Linked DNA regions of Homo sapiens: all the other regions are linked to region 2. Evidence: promoter capture Hi-C in 16 types of primary human blood cells and fetal thymus (Javierre and others, 2016). All regions are on one chromosome and are shown on one strand. Each heading gives the region's core, a stretch centred on a gene start or on the middle of the fragment in contact. The rest is flanking DNA. Distances are from core to core; before and after follow the strand shown. Region 1 has its middle 7.3 kb from the start of PLCXD2. Region 2 holds the start of NECTIN3 (nectin cell adhesion molecule 3). Region 3 has its middle 660 kb from the start of NECTIN3-AS1. Region 4 has its middle 710 kb from the start of MIR4445. Region 5 overlaps CD96 (CD96 molecule).

What was found. Contacts are between HindIII fragments. The CHiCAGO score rates a contact against its expected background, and 5 or more counts as called.
Region 1: a contact is called between a fragment that was not itself captured here and the fragment with the promoter of NECTIN3 in region 2, in 1 of 17 cell types (fetal thymus). The highest score is 5.9, in fetal thymus.
Region 3: a fragment that was not itself captured here is called in contact with the fragment with the promoter of NECTIN3 in region 2 in 1 of 17 cell types (endothelial precursors); the score reaches 5.2 in endothelial precursors.
Region 4: a contact is called between a fragment that was not itself captured here and the fragment with the promoter of NECTIN3 in region 2, in 1 of 17 cell types (endothelial precursors). The highest score is 5.2, in endothelial precursors.
Region 5: a contact is called between a fragment that was not itself captured here and the fragment with the promoter of NECTIN3 in region 2, in 2 of 17 cell types (activated CD4 T cells and non-activated CD4 T cells). The highest score is 6.4, in activated CD4 T cells.

What each region holds. Positions count from the first base shown.
Region 1 is chr3:111,666,069-111,668,768 of GRCh38, forward strand. No RefSeq gene overlaps it. Among named protein-coding and RNA genes, the nearest start is that of PLCXD2, 7.3 kb to the right of the region's middle. RefSeq lists an enhancer at 1,867-1,916. The HindIII fragment of the contact is 257 bases long and covers 1,294-1,550 here.
Region 2 is chr3:111,070,407-111,073,106 of GRCh38, forward strand. NECTIN3 (nectin cell adhesion molecule 3) reads left to right here and starts at 1,410. Exons shown (of 6, transcript NM_015480.3): 1 at 1,410-1,771. The coding sequence starts at 1,612. It overlaps LOC151760 (putative uncharacterized protein LOC151760), which reads right to left and starts at 1,360. Exons shown (of 4, transcript XR_007096272.1): 1 at 1,086-1,360. RefSeq lists a silencer at 1,138-1,237. The HindIII fragment of the contact is 3,046 bases long and covers 1-2,700 here.
Region 3 is chr3:110,409,154-110,411,853 of GRCh38, forward strand. No RefSeq gene overlaps it. Among named protein-coding and RNA genes, the nearest start is that of NECTIN3-AS1, 660 kb to the right of the region's middle. The HindIII fragment of the contact is 1,171 bases long and covers 737-1,907 here.
Region 4 is chr3:110,309,205-110,311,904 of GRCh38, forward strand. No RefSeq gene overlaps it. Among named protein-coding and RNA genes, the nearest start is that of MIR4445, 710 kb to the left of the region's middle. The HindIII fragment of the contact is 1,513 bases long and covers 569-2,081 here.
Region 5 is chr3:111,615,343-111,618,042 of GRCh38, forward strand. All of the region lies in intron 8 of CD96 (CD96 molecule), which reads left to right. Among named protein-coding and RNA genes, the nearest start is that of ZBED2, 21 kb to the left of the region's middle. RefSeq lists enhancers at 1,161-1,661, 1,662-2,162. The HindIII fragment of the contact is 2,568 bases long and covers 31-2,598 here.

The sequences.
Region 1 (2,700 bases), core at 172-2,671, 600 kb after region 2:
CAATGTCACTCCAAGATGAGGGAATGCGGGCTGTGAACTCTGTTGGACCCAAATGTCCTCAAAGGTGGAAAGCTGCCTTCACTCCTCAACGCCCCCACTGTGAGGATGAGGCCAGACACAAAGTAGTATTCAATTCAGTATCATGTGAATGAATGACAGGAAATGGCAAATGAGTGAGTAGGAGAAAGAAAAATGCCTTGTGGAGCAGAGAATTTGCTAAAGGTGGTGATTGTCACTCAAGTATGGTGAGTTGAGCTTTTCTTTTGACTCACTTCACATCACAGACTAATATATCCACTTTAAATCAATGCTCTTCTTCTAATGATTTTTATTGTGGCATGTCAGTCAGGCCAGGAGAGGTCAGGACCTAAATCTGGGCAGCTTGGCAGATGCCTTAGGCTGAATAGGCCACTGAGTCAGTTTCAAAGTTTAGCCCAGATTGGTAGAATCAGGCAGGCATCATAGGTGCAGAGGAAAAAAAAAAAAAAAACAGATCCAAGGAATCAGTGAAGACTCAAGTAAGTAGACACAGAACACCAGTCTAGACAGGTGAGGAAACTTAGTCTAAAACTCTTGGAGCAAGAACATACCTCAGCAGGCTAAAGATTCATAGGAGTTTGAGACCTGAGTCAGAGGCCTCTTGTCTTCTACTTCCGCTGTGTAAATTTATCAGGCTTTAATATTGTACATTCGGTACCAGAAGGGCAGGATGAGCCCTACAAGTGAAACTTTCTCCTGGTCAACTCAAGAGGAGGGAGTTAAGCTTAGGTGGGAAGCTTTCAGTTCTCTACTCTCTTTAAGAAGACAGTCTAATGGCTCATAATCTTGATTCTTCACCAGCGTTTGCTCCAGGTTGCCTAAGGTTTGGGCAAATAGACACGATTTCAAGCTTTGGTTTCAAATCCACTCATAGTCTTCTACTTTACTAAAGTTGGCTGGGCCATGAGTGAACAGAGCTTTCTTGTGCCTAATTGACTTCTTGGTGCCTTTCTTCCAGACCTAGGACTTTCACATTAGGGGTCACAAGTACCCAAGAATAAAGGCGTGTGCCAGAAGGGACTCGAAGCCACAGGGCAAACATAGCACATCCAGAACATCAATTTTGTGTGTGTGTGTGCATGTGTGTGTGTGTGTGTGTGTGTGTAACAAAATGTGAATGAATTTACAAAAACAAACTATGCAGCTTGAAAGAAATGCCAGGATCAGTGCTTGTCATGCCTGCCATACAGGGCTCTGGGGAGTGTGCATTTACTCAGCTCCATGATTAGGGCACATCTGGCGCAAGAGTTGAGAAGCTTTGCCCTCGGGCCGCACACACATCAATCCTACCACTGTGGAGGTGATGGAGGCACTAAAGGTGACTTCCATCCAGGTCATTCATACTTCCCACTCTGAGAGCTTCATTATGTGTTTTCTGAGCCTGACTGCCTGAGCTAAGCGCATCTCATCCTGGGTGCTGAATGCGGGGAGAGGGTAGAGAAAATGTTGAGGTGTCCCCAGAGGCTAGAACGTGTTACCAGTATAAAGGTACTCCCCAAAACACAATCTCAAGCTTTTGCTGGTAGCCGCATGATTTTAGAATATTAGGTCCATATTTATATAGAAGTTCTGTTAGTCCTGACTACAGCAAATGAAGTCAAAGATTTGAGTGAGGAAAGGCAATAAAAAGGAAAGAAAGGCTTAACTGTGCAAAGACAAAAGGTATCTACAGCAGGCAGAGGGAAAAAAACAGAGTACGGTTGGAAAGACCGTGAAGTTCATGTAGTTCAATCAAGCATCAGGTGCTTCAATTCTATCATGTTACTGTCTTATTGGTGCCAAGCTTGGCTTGGATGCTTCCAGTTATAGGAACTCACTTCCTCCTCTACTTCATTATATTGCTTAACTCTGACTTCTAGAATATTCTCCTTTATACTTGGCTGAAACAGAAAGATGTGTGGCATAAATTTTACTTTCTCTTTTACTTCTGCTACTCAAAGGAAGAGGAAGCTGTGGGTGCAGATGTTGCTAAGATAAACTACAACTTCCTCCATGACCAGTTTCTGCAGTTTAGGAAGGGCAGAGCCGAACACGTGGCTGAGTTGGGGAGTTAACTACAGACACTTAAGCAAATCAGAATCCTTTGAAACAAAATCATCAAAAGGCCAAGAAGCATTTGTAAGGGCTTTTGACTACAACCTAACATTCAGAGAGAGTTGATCAGAGAGAGTTGTTGACACACTAAAAATTCATTACTTTTATTTACATTGAAATTTATTTACTTTATTAAAAAATATTTTTGTTGGTTAAGGTTGTTTGTACAAACTTGTAATTTTAATATTTAAAAAGTTGGAAGAGAATGATAGTATTAGGTAATGATAATATTACTAATTTTTACTCCATGGATGAGGTGGCATCATGCTATTTCCAATTGATAGTGGCACACCAAATTGCAGAGTCATGTTGTTAAAAGAATGCATTCCCAAGATTAGATTGGTTAAATGATAACAAATGCACAGAGGTCATTCTGTTGTGACTGAAGCTCAAGTGATTACTAATATACACATTAATACAACAATGTCTCCTAATAATAGACATAATTCTCATAATTCTAGGAACCTTGGGGTGGGGTGGTAGCCTGGAGAAAAAAAAGGTAAGGGTGGCAGATCAATTGATTTTCCTGCTAGTTGAGATCAACTATCTCTGCCAAAATAGTCTTCC
Region 2 (2,700 bases), core at 160-2,659:
GGCCGCAAGCATGCATTAGTTTAGCTGCGACAGGCTAACTTCTGGGCGGCTGATCCTTGTTCAGCTTTCCTGTTACTGGAACACATTTATGGCTATCTCGTGGAGATGACAGGACCTACATAAAATTAATAGTGTCAGGCCTGAGGACTGGTGTCCTCTGCCTTCAATTCACCCCCTACGCTGGACAGTCCAAATTGTCCACCCTCCTACTCCCCCCGCGGAACCAATGTGGCAGTGGCTCCAAGGTCAAGCTGCCGGTACTGTGCGAGGCGGGAGGATGGAGAGGGCAGGGCGGAGAGCCACCTGGGATGAGCGAGGGTCATGGTGGACCACAGACGCTCTTCTTATACGGGCAAATGTTTAATACTTCCCGAGGTCGCCTCTCTGCCATCAAACGAAAACAGGCAAGAAAATAAAACTACACATACGAACATGCAAAGGAAACAAAACCAAAGAAAAACACCAACGCACTCGTTGGGGGAAATCCATGGCCTCCTGTTGCCAGTCGCCCGGCGCGGAAAGTGGACAGCCCAGCGGCCAGTGAGAAGCAAGAGCAAGAAAGCAAACCTTCTGAAGACCCCTCTCCTCGCCCAGCTCCGCCGACCATTCTACCAAGCTGCCCTCCCAGAAAAAAGAGCAGGAAAAATGCCTGTGCAAACGTGCCTTGGCGAGCGGGGAATAAGTGGGCTGGGAAGAAGGGAAGGATTCGGAGAGCACAGCTGTCCCGGGGAACAGGAAGGAGGAGAAAGTCTCTCCCTCCCTTCAGTGCCCCGCGCCCCAGCGAGGAGGAAGATTACTAGTCCAGCAGGCTGCGTCCAGCTTCCTACACAGGAACCTTTAGCATGGGCAACGGAAGGGCAGCCCCCTCCTGCCTTCCCCTCCCCACCCCACCCCCTCGTCCCAGGTCCCCGCCACAGGGAGAGCGCCGCCCGGGAGAGGAGAAGGCCGAGCGTGATTGTCCCGCAGCCCTCGCCTCAGTCGGCGCCGGGGCCCCCGTGGACCCGCGAGGGGTGGAGTGGGCGAGACCATTGGAAAGGCAGGGAAGGGGGGAAACCAGGCAGGAACGAGGGGCGGGGCCGACTAACCTATTCCAGATTTTCCTGTCCCTTTTAAATCTCTGCTGTGGGAGAAACCCCGTTATCAAAGTGGATGAAAAGAATATTTTTTTTTGAAAGGGGAGGAGCATGTGTAGGAGGGCGGGGTGGGAGGAGACAGGGCTTGCGCCCGGGGATCAGACGGGAGGTGGAGTTGCGCGGGGAGGGCGGGCGAGTCGGGCGCCCGCTCTGAGAGTCGGTTTCTTTTCCCCCTCTTGCGTGGGGCGGGGTGGTGCGTTCCGAGTTCCCAGGAGTTCGACGCGGGCGGGTGCCGAGGGGAGGGGAGTGGCGGCGGCGGCGGGCGGCTCCCGCTTCAGCCTCGGCAGTGGCGTCGGCGACGGCGGTGTCGAGGCAGCCGCCAGCGTTCGGCCAAGTGTCAGCCGGCAGCGACGGCGCTAGAGCTGGGAGCTGGGGACGCGCGCGCCGGACCTTCCACAGCCTCCGCCCAGAGCCTGAGGCGCCGGGGCCGGGGGAGCCGGGGGGCGGGCGGGCGAGCGGGCCGGGGGGAGGGTGGGGGATGGCGCGGACCCTGCGGCCGTCCCCGCTGTGTCCTGGAGGCGGCAAAGCACAACTTTCCTCCGCTTCTCTCCTCGGAGCCGGGCTCCTGCTGCAGCCCCCGACGCCACCTCCGCTGCTGCTGCTGCTCTTCCCGCTGCTGCTCTTCTCCAGGCTCTGTGGTAGGTGAACCTCGGCGGCCGGCGTGGGCTGAGGGAGCCGCCACTGAGGGTGCGGGCGCCGCGGCCGGCTCTGCCAGCCGTTCTCTGGAGCAGCGAGGCGGTTGGTTGTGCGAGCGAGTGCCGAGGACTTTGGCTGGAAACTTTTCGCCGCGCCCGGGGCGAGGCCCTGGAAGGGCCAGGCCAGCGAATGCTGAGCCGGCGGCCCGCTGCCCTCCCCCGCGGCCGCGCGGGTCGCCGTGCGGATGGCCGAGGGTTGGCGATGGTGCTTCGTGCGCCGAACTCCGGGTTTGCTCCGGGGACCGTTACTTCCTCGCTCATTCTCTGGGAACCCTCGTAGGTTAAGGTGCCGGGATGCACGTTTGCCGCTTTTTTTCCCGGTGAAACTTGAGCTGTGAGCCCAGAAACCCTAGGGACCGGAGCCCGATGGAATGAAGCCTCCGGGTCCACTTCTCATGGCCTTCCACCCTGGAGAAGGCACCATTTTAGCCCACCCAGCCGCAGAATCCCCTACAGCTAGTTTTCTTCTGTCTTGTGCCCACTCCCCCGGCTCTGCCCTGACAGCTTCTGGAGCTCTCTAGATTGACCCTCGTCCCTGCCCTCCAGCTTGTGGGACGTCTCTCACACTGCCCGTGCTTATTTTACCAAACCGCAGGAACAAGATTTACGTGTTAAATACCTGATTTCATGGACTGTGTGCCCCGGCTGTTCTAACCAAAACAGTCACGCGCCTGTTTCCCATCTCTTGACCCTCGTGTTATGTTACTGTTTTCCTGTCATATTTGGGAGTTAGTCTCTGAGTTTTCTTCCCAGGTATGCCAGACTAGAAGCCTGCTTATTAAGGACTGTGCTAAAAAAAAAAAAAAAAAAAAAGTCTGCCTCATGCAAGAGAAATGGACTTAAGTGGTAATTAATGGGAGGCAGCGATTTGG
Region 3 (2,700 bases), core at 72-2,571, 660 kb before region 2:
CTTTTACCATTTAGTATATTCGTTGTGGGTTTTTCCAAATATGGCTTTTATTATATTGTGGTAGTTTCCTTCTATTCCTAATTTGTTCAGACTTTTAATCATGGAAGTATGTGCAATTTTGTCAAATGCTTTTTCTGCCTCAGTTGATAAGATCATGTGTTTTGTTTTTTCCTTCACATTCTTAATGTTGTATGTGGGCATTGATTGGCTTTTGCATGTTAAACTACTTTTACATCCCCAAAATAAATGGGGTGCATTTCCTTATAATGGTGCATAATCCTTATAATATGCTGCTTAATTCAGTTTGCTAGTATTTTGTTAAAATGTTTGCATTAAGATTTATAAAGGAATTGATTTGCAGTTTTCTTTTTTTGTAGTGTTTTTGTCTGGCTTTGGTATTAGGGTAACGCTGGCCTCATTGAATGACACAGAAAATGTTATCTCTTCTTCAGCTTCTTAGAAAAGTTTGAGAAAGATTTGTTTTAGTTATTTGAGTGTTTGGTAGAATTCACTAGCAAAGCCATCACGTCTTAGGCTTTTCTTTGTTGGAAGATTTTTTTTTAAATTCAATCTCCCTACTTCTTATAGGTCTATTCAAATCTTCAATTTATTTGTGATTTACTCTTGGTAGGATTTTGTTTCTCAAAATTTATCCATTTCTTCTTGCTTACGCAGTTTTCTGGCATACAATTGAAGTGGTGGTAATGCCCTTACTTTTTTGACTTTAGTAATTTGAAGCTTCTCTTTTTTGTTCTTAGTTCATCTAATTAAAGGTTTGTCAATTTTTTAAATTTCTCCAAAAAATAGATTTTGATTTTTATTAATTGTCTTTATTGTTTTGCTATTCTTTATTCTATATATCTCTTCTCTAGTCTTTATTATTTTCCTCTTCCTTCTTACTTTGGGCTTATTTTGTTCTTTTTCTAGTTCTGTAGGTTGTAAAGTTAAGTTATTGATTTGAGATTTTTCTTGTCTTTTAATGTAAGCATTTATAGCTATAAATTTCTACTTTGCACTGGTTTTTCCATGTCTCTTAAGTTTTGGTGTGTTGTATTTTGTTTTTTGTTTTTTTTTTCATTCATTACAAAGCATTTTCTAATTTCCCTTGTAATTTTTTCTTAGATCCTAATTTACTGAAAGACTTAATATGCCTTTAAAAAAGTAGTAGATTCTAACTATGTTTTAAAAATTCTCCATTTAGCCTAACAGTTAAGTAATCCACGTGGGTACCACACCTTAATTCTTCATATTGAATTACTGAAATTGTAATACACTGTGGTTAAAAGTCAAGAAAGGGCCCTTAAGTGAGTACTAAAAGTACAACTATTTATTTGGACAATATCTGTTTTGTAAACAAACTTCAAAAGTTATATTTGGTGTTACTTAAATATACAACTAAGAGAATTAATTACATTGCACATACAAACATAAGAACATTTAACGTAATTTTTTTTCATAAAAAGTCAAAAGGGTATGTTTCTATTATAGCACTAAAAGTATTTCTCCATAAACATTAAATATATGATATATAAATACATTTCTGTAATATCAAAGTTTTACTGGCAGGAAATCCTTTCGTTCTTTTTTTGAGACAGAGTTTTGTTCTTGTTGCCCATGCTGGAGTGCAAGGGCGCCATCTTGGCCCACTGCAAACTCTGCCTGCCGGGTTCAAGTGATTCTCCTGCCTCAGCCTCCTGAGTAGCTGGGATTACAGACATGCGCCACCACGCCAGGCTAATTTTGTATTTTTAGTAGAGATAGGGTTTCTCCATGTTGGTCAGGCTGGTCTTGAACTCCCAACCTCAGGTGATCCGCCCACCTCAGCCTCCCAAAGTGCTGGGATCACAGGCGTGAGCCACTGCGCCTGGCTAGGAATTTCTTTTGTCTGTATTACTCACAAATGACAAAGCTTTGGCAAATACAACAGATTATGCCTAGAAAATGCCAATAAAATGTTTGCATCCCTTTCTCAAAAACTTTTGAAGATTAGAAGAATGACCTCTAAAATCTTTTTACTTCAAAAAACAGATAATTAATTTGCACTTATTTATACATTTTACTGTGAAATGTAACACTCTTTTCTAATCAGTTGTCACTTATTCATTATATATTCTTATATGTCAGAAGAATAGGAAAAAAATAAATGCAAATTTATAAAAGTGTTCACACCCAAGAGGCACAAGAAAGTATTCAAGGGATCAAATAAAGCACATTAAAAAGTGTAAGAGAATATAAGGAAAACTCATGACTCATGGCATTAATACAATTAATCTATGAGACCTCAAAGAGTAGCTTAAACCATTCTTAATTGTGTCAATTAAAAACTGAGGGGATTGGACCACCTGAGTTTCACAGTTTCTTTGACCTCTTTTCAGCTTACATCATCTAGGATCTATTTCTCTTAGTTGTAACCAAGAATTCTGAATGATTCAACCTTCCATTTGCTTGCTTTCTACTACTGTTAATAATTCTAATTTTATTAACTTTGTTGTCCTTCATTATAGATTGTTTCAAAAGTATTGAGTAAAGAGGATATGACTAAAATAAAATAAATGGTAATAGCTTTAATTAACCTTATTTTATTTTACTGAAGATATTCTGTTTCCTACAAACTTCTCTTGCTTAAAATACTGATATTTGTTCAATTCAATTTCTACATAGCATTGTATTTTCTGGCCCATAGTCATTATAATCTAAAGT
Region 4 (2,700 bases), core at 75-2,574, 760 kb before region 2:
ACCTGTCTTCAGGACCCAGTAGCAAATTACTAAATCAGGCCTGATTCTACCTTAGTATTCCAAAGACTATGACAGCATTTGTCAACAAATATTAAAAATAGTGTCATTTGGTTCTGTGTCGGTGACAAAGATCATGACACTTTTCAGAAAGGCCAAGCAAAATCAGTATTTCTGTATGATTCAAAGTATAGTGTGATAAGAGATAGAGAGAAGACTAAGAAAGGAACAGAACATGAAAAGCATTATGTATCAAAGATCTTGGACTCCAATATCCAAAATAAATTCACAGGGTGCCTATTCTGTTCTACGTACCATTTGAATCCCTAAATACACAACAATTCTCCTGACAGAAATGATTTCTGGTCTCATGGAACTCAGTATCTCACAGGGAAGACACACAATCCCCAATAGGGGGAGGTCCTTTGAAGAATTTCATATAGTTAAGCCACATGATCAGATTTTTAACAATTCCTAAGAATCAGATCTCCCAAATTTAACTTAGTTGAATGTTTAAATTTAATTCAGATTTATTTTTTTTTCTTGGATAGAAAAATAAAGATGCACGTTAAGCTTCTAGCAACATTCTGGAGGTTAGAAAGCTGAACTCAAAATCATCTGTCCCCATTCTTGTGATACCAGAGAAAAAGTGGCTGGGCAGACGTGACACTAAGTATTCCCATTCTATAACCCTGGTTCCTTCCAGGCTGTGTTAATCTGGCATTCCAGGGCTAGCGATAAAGCCCTGGGGTGCTTTGTTTACAAACCAAGGCAAAATAATTTACAGAATATTTTCCTATAAAAAGAATAACTTCAAGAGGTTTTAAACTTTTCCTAATAATACTGACTTTTAAGAACTCTTTGAAATTGCCTTCAAAAGCAGTTTAAAATAATAAAAGAATTCAGGATAATAATTTTAAGATCCCATATTCTTTCAGTGGTTCTCAAAATGTGGTCTCCAGACCACATCAGTATCACCTGGAAACTTTTTAGAAAAGTACGTTTTCAGGTCCCACCCTCAACGAAATGATCAGAAACTCTGAGGGTAGACAGAGCACTCTGGGTCTGAATGAGAGCCCCATGGTATCCTGAGGCTGTTAATCTGGGGAATCACACTTTAAGAATCACTGTATTATTTTGTCCCAATTAATATTAATCACATTGATCATTTCATCTTATCACTAGCCACCCTTAAGTGACTGAGCAGCTTCTCAAAGCCACCCTCAGAAAATAAATCATTCTTACCAGTGAGGTTATTTAAGAAAGCACGCTGCATGATATCAAGGTAATTCTAATAACAACAACAAAAAAGCAGAAACAGCACAATGGGGTTATTTGGAAAGAGAGAATGATTATTTGAATAAATATATACTCATCAGTCTTGCAACATGGCAATGGAAAAGCTGTGGTCATATAGGTCAAACTTAGTATAAGTAAATTTATATTTTGTTTCCTGACTTATTTTCTGCCAACTTTTTTCCACGGTGTGTGTACAAAAAAAAGTTATCAAGCTGGAGAATCCTAAACAACAGGAATCTTATTTTACACTTCATCATTTATCTTAAGAACGTTTTCAGGCCAGGTGCAGTGGCTCACGCCTGTAATCCCAGCACTTTGGGAAGCCGAAGCAGAGAGATCACTTGAGGTCAGGAGCTCGAGACCAGCCTGGCCAACATAGAGAAACCCCGTCTCTACTAAAAATACAAAAAATTAGCTGAGTGTGGTAGTGGGCGCCTGTAATTCCAGCTACTTGGGAGGCTGAGGCAAGAGAATCGCTTGAACCCGGGAGGTGGAAGTTGCAGTGAGCTGAGTTTGCATGACTGCAATCCAGCCTGGGTGACAGAGCAAGACTCTGTCTCATAAAAACAAAACAAAACAAAACATTTTCATTTCTATTACTTTATTATAAACCACCACGGCACACATTTACCTAGGTAACAAACCTGCACATGTACCCCGGAACTTAAAATAAAATTTTTAAAAAAGAGTACACCAAAAAAAATTGCTAATTGGAGAAACCAGTAAGCACAAATTCCTCAAGTACTTCACAAAGTGTAGCATTTTTGCATTCTGTAGCACATGTAAGCTTCAGTGGAAAGTTGTACAATTCGACATGGCTGTAGCTTGAAAAAGAAGCATGCTATTTCTTATAGGCTTTAATAGGTAAACTCTATTAAAATCATCTTTTTACCAGTAAAGAATTTCTTAATAATTTGCTGTTTGTAAAATAGTTACCTTTTTTAAAGAATGTATGACTTTTTTGGAAATGTATTTTTAAGTGCGTTCTTTCGGACCCACAAATTCAGGATGATGGAAAGGAAGACAGTTGTGGTTTTGCTAAATGAGTAAATGTGTGGAAGTATTACATAACCAAAGGGGTTCATGTTTTAGTGCAAGTGGCTAGAATTTTAAATAGCTCTAAAGTTCCCTTTCTATTGATTTATATTCAGACAAAAAGCCCTACTGTATAAACCAGGAAAGAACAAGCATGTAGATGGATAATACAGCTATATTAGCTGCTATGTCAGCAGTTTCCATACTCAGATTAATGCACAGAGACTCTCTCTTGACATCTGTTTATGTGCCACAAGCCAGACAAACAAAGGCAATCTACTAACCAGCATAAATTACACACACATTTCTTGTCTCTTATTACCAAATGGGTTATTGCCACTCTCAAAAAAAATGTTAAACATTTTTCTT
Region 5 (2,700 bases), core at 65-2,564, 540 kb after region 2:
AAGGGAGACAGGAGAATGCAGAAAAGGGAAAGCTTTCACGTGGGTGGTTCCTTCTTCTAAGGGTGATTAAAAGCAACAGAAGAGACTAAGCAAACAAAATACCTTCTATAGCACTTGGTTCACAGTAAGTGTCAACATGTTGTATTCTATTATTAGAACCTCTAAATCCATTTGGAAATACAGTAAGAACCCAAGGTAGGAAATAGAGTGGCTGATTGACCAGTCTGTCTTTGTCTAAGGGGTGTGTGTGTATGTGTGTGTCTGCGTGCATGTGTGTTTTAATAAAAATAATCTAGGTTTAGAATGAAAGCAAATAATCTAGGTTTAGAATTATGTATCTACTTGAGATAGATACTGATGTAAACAAAACCAGGCTCACAAGGACCAACATCTAGTGAGGGGAGGAGGGAAGTGGGCAGTAAAGATGAGCAGAAATCTACAGTTAGCATGAAAAGCCACATTATACCCTACTTGATATATCCCCCACGACTGCCCTCTCCCTTTCTCTTGCTTTGCTCAGCCAAGCTAGCCTCCTAGCTGTTTCTTCAACATACCAGGATTTCTCTCATCTCAGGGCCTTTTAACCTCACTTCCTATGCCTGAAAAATTCTTCCCCCAAATATCTACATGGATCACACCCTCATCTTCTCGAAATTTTTGTTCAAATGTCACCTTCTCGATGAGGTACTCCATGACCATCATATTTTAAATTGCAGCTGCCTCCCACCCCATTTCCTGTTCCCCTTTTTTGGCTGTATTTTCTCCATAACACATTTTAACACCGTCTATAAGTTACCTGTTTGGCTCCTCTCCACACATAAAAAAAGTAAATCTGATGAGGGCAGTGTTTTTTATCTTATTTGTCTACTGATACAGCTGTATCACCTAGAACAATGATAACACATGGTTACCAATAAGTATTGATAATTCAGTAAATATTTTTTAAATGGAGAATTTTTTTAAGTATAAAAAAGAAGAGATTAACAAAGGAAGGCTTTAGGGAATGCAGAGGATATCTCCCTAAAGAAAAGCCATCTGGCTAGGGCTGATGTCTGGGTAGCCTTATGACAGGAAGCTGAAAGGTGGTGGTGGGACAGGAAGCTGAAAGGTGGTGGTGGGACAGGAAGAGAAGCTATCAAAGGCCTGCTATTCTGGGTGGTTGCGTGCTAGACATCATGAGTGAGCTCTTCCGTGGCTAGGCCCTGATGATGATGATGCATGCTGCAGCAAGGCTAACTACACTTATAAGGCTACCAGAATGGAATAAATATAGTCTTTAGTGTCAGACAGCCTTGGGTTCAGTTGTTGTCTCTGCCACCTACTGGCTCTGTAGCCTAGAGCAAGTCATTCTGATGGCAGCAGCTGCCCGACTGGACTAGCTGCTGTGGGGATGCCAGCTGTAGTGAGGGAGGCCTGGCTGGGACTGTTGAGCCCGTAGAGGCTGAGAACAGGAGGGAGCCTGCCCCCTACTGACTTGGCAAGGCAGGAGCCCTGGGCTTTCAGGGCAGCTGCAGCCACCCAGCTGTGGCTCCAGACCCTGACACCCCTGCTCTCTTGAGGGCCTGGGAACACCCCCGCTTCTGCAGGCTCAGAAGGGCCTGCTTCCACCCCCTGGACTCTTCCCACTCCCAGCACCTGCTCCAATTTCAGAGCAAAGATGAGGCTCAGCCCAGGCACTGTCACAACCTGGCCAGGTGTGTGCACACTTGGGGCAGCACTGACACACCAATCCCCCACCTTGGCCCCCTCCAGACTTTGGGCGCCAAGGAGCACAGGAAGGAGGCAGCAGGTGGAGATGGGCTGAGGGCAGCTGGGTGCAGGCCTGCAGGTGCCATTTGGTGCAAACAGCCTGGGCTATGGAAGGCATGATGACAGTGGGAGGCTGACTAGGTTCCTGGATGGAAAGGTGTAGGTCCCCAGTGAAACCCCACCTTCAGGCCAGGCATGGCCTGAAGCCTGGGAGCCAGGCTGCCAGTTCCAAGTGAAGTCCATGGATATGAGTAATAACTTCATCGATGACCACTGGGCCAATTGGATAGTGCTTTTTCCTGGCCTGCCTATGGCCATCTATGGACCAATCACCATGCACTTTCTCCCTTCTGAGCCCATGAAAAACCGGGGATTCAGCCAGACTCAGAAAGAAGTCAAGACTACCAGCTGTGGGAGGGAGCTACCCACTATGGGTCTCCTCATCCAGACAACTTGCCTGCAGAAAGGAGCTACCCACTACAGGTCTCCTCTCCACTGAGAGCTGGACACTCATTGGGACAGCCTGCATATGGAAAGGAACTACCCACTTCAGGTCTCCTGAGAGCTGTTCTGTGGCTCAGTGAAGCTCCTCTCCACCTTGCTCACCCTCCAGTTGTCAGCATACCTCGTTCTTCTTGGGGGCGAGACAAGAACTTGGGACCTACTGAATGGTGGGACTGAAAGAGTTGTAACACAAACCCAGCTGAAACACACCTCCCACCTGCTCACCACATTGCAAGCAATGAGAAGGAGAGAAGAGCTGTGGCCCTTCAGGGAGCCCAGACCTAAGGCCTCCCAGGCCAGGGCTGTAAAACCCTCTTTGGAGCTCTACAGTTCCTGGCATCTCCAAGCTTTCTGGTGCCACAGTGTTCCCCTTGTCCAGACACCAGTGCCTGCAGCAGAAACTGCTTGCCATACATCTGGTCCAGCAGCAGCATCACACAGAGTCGG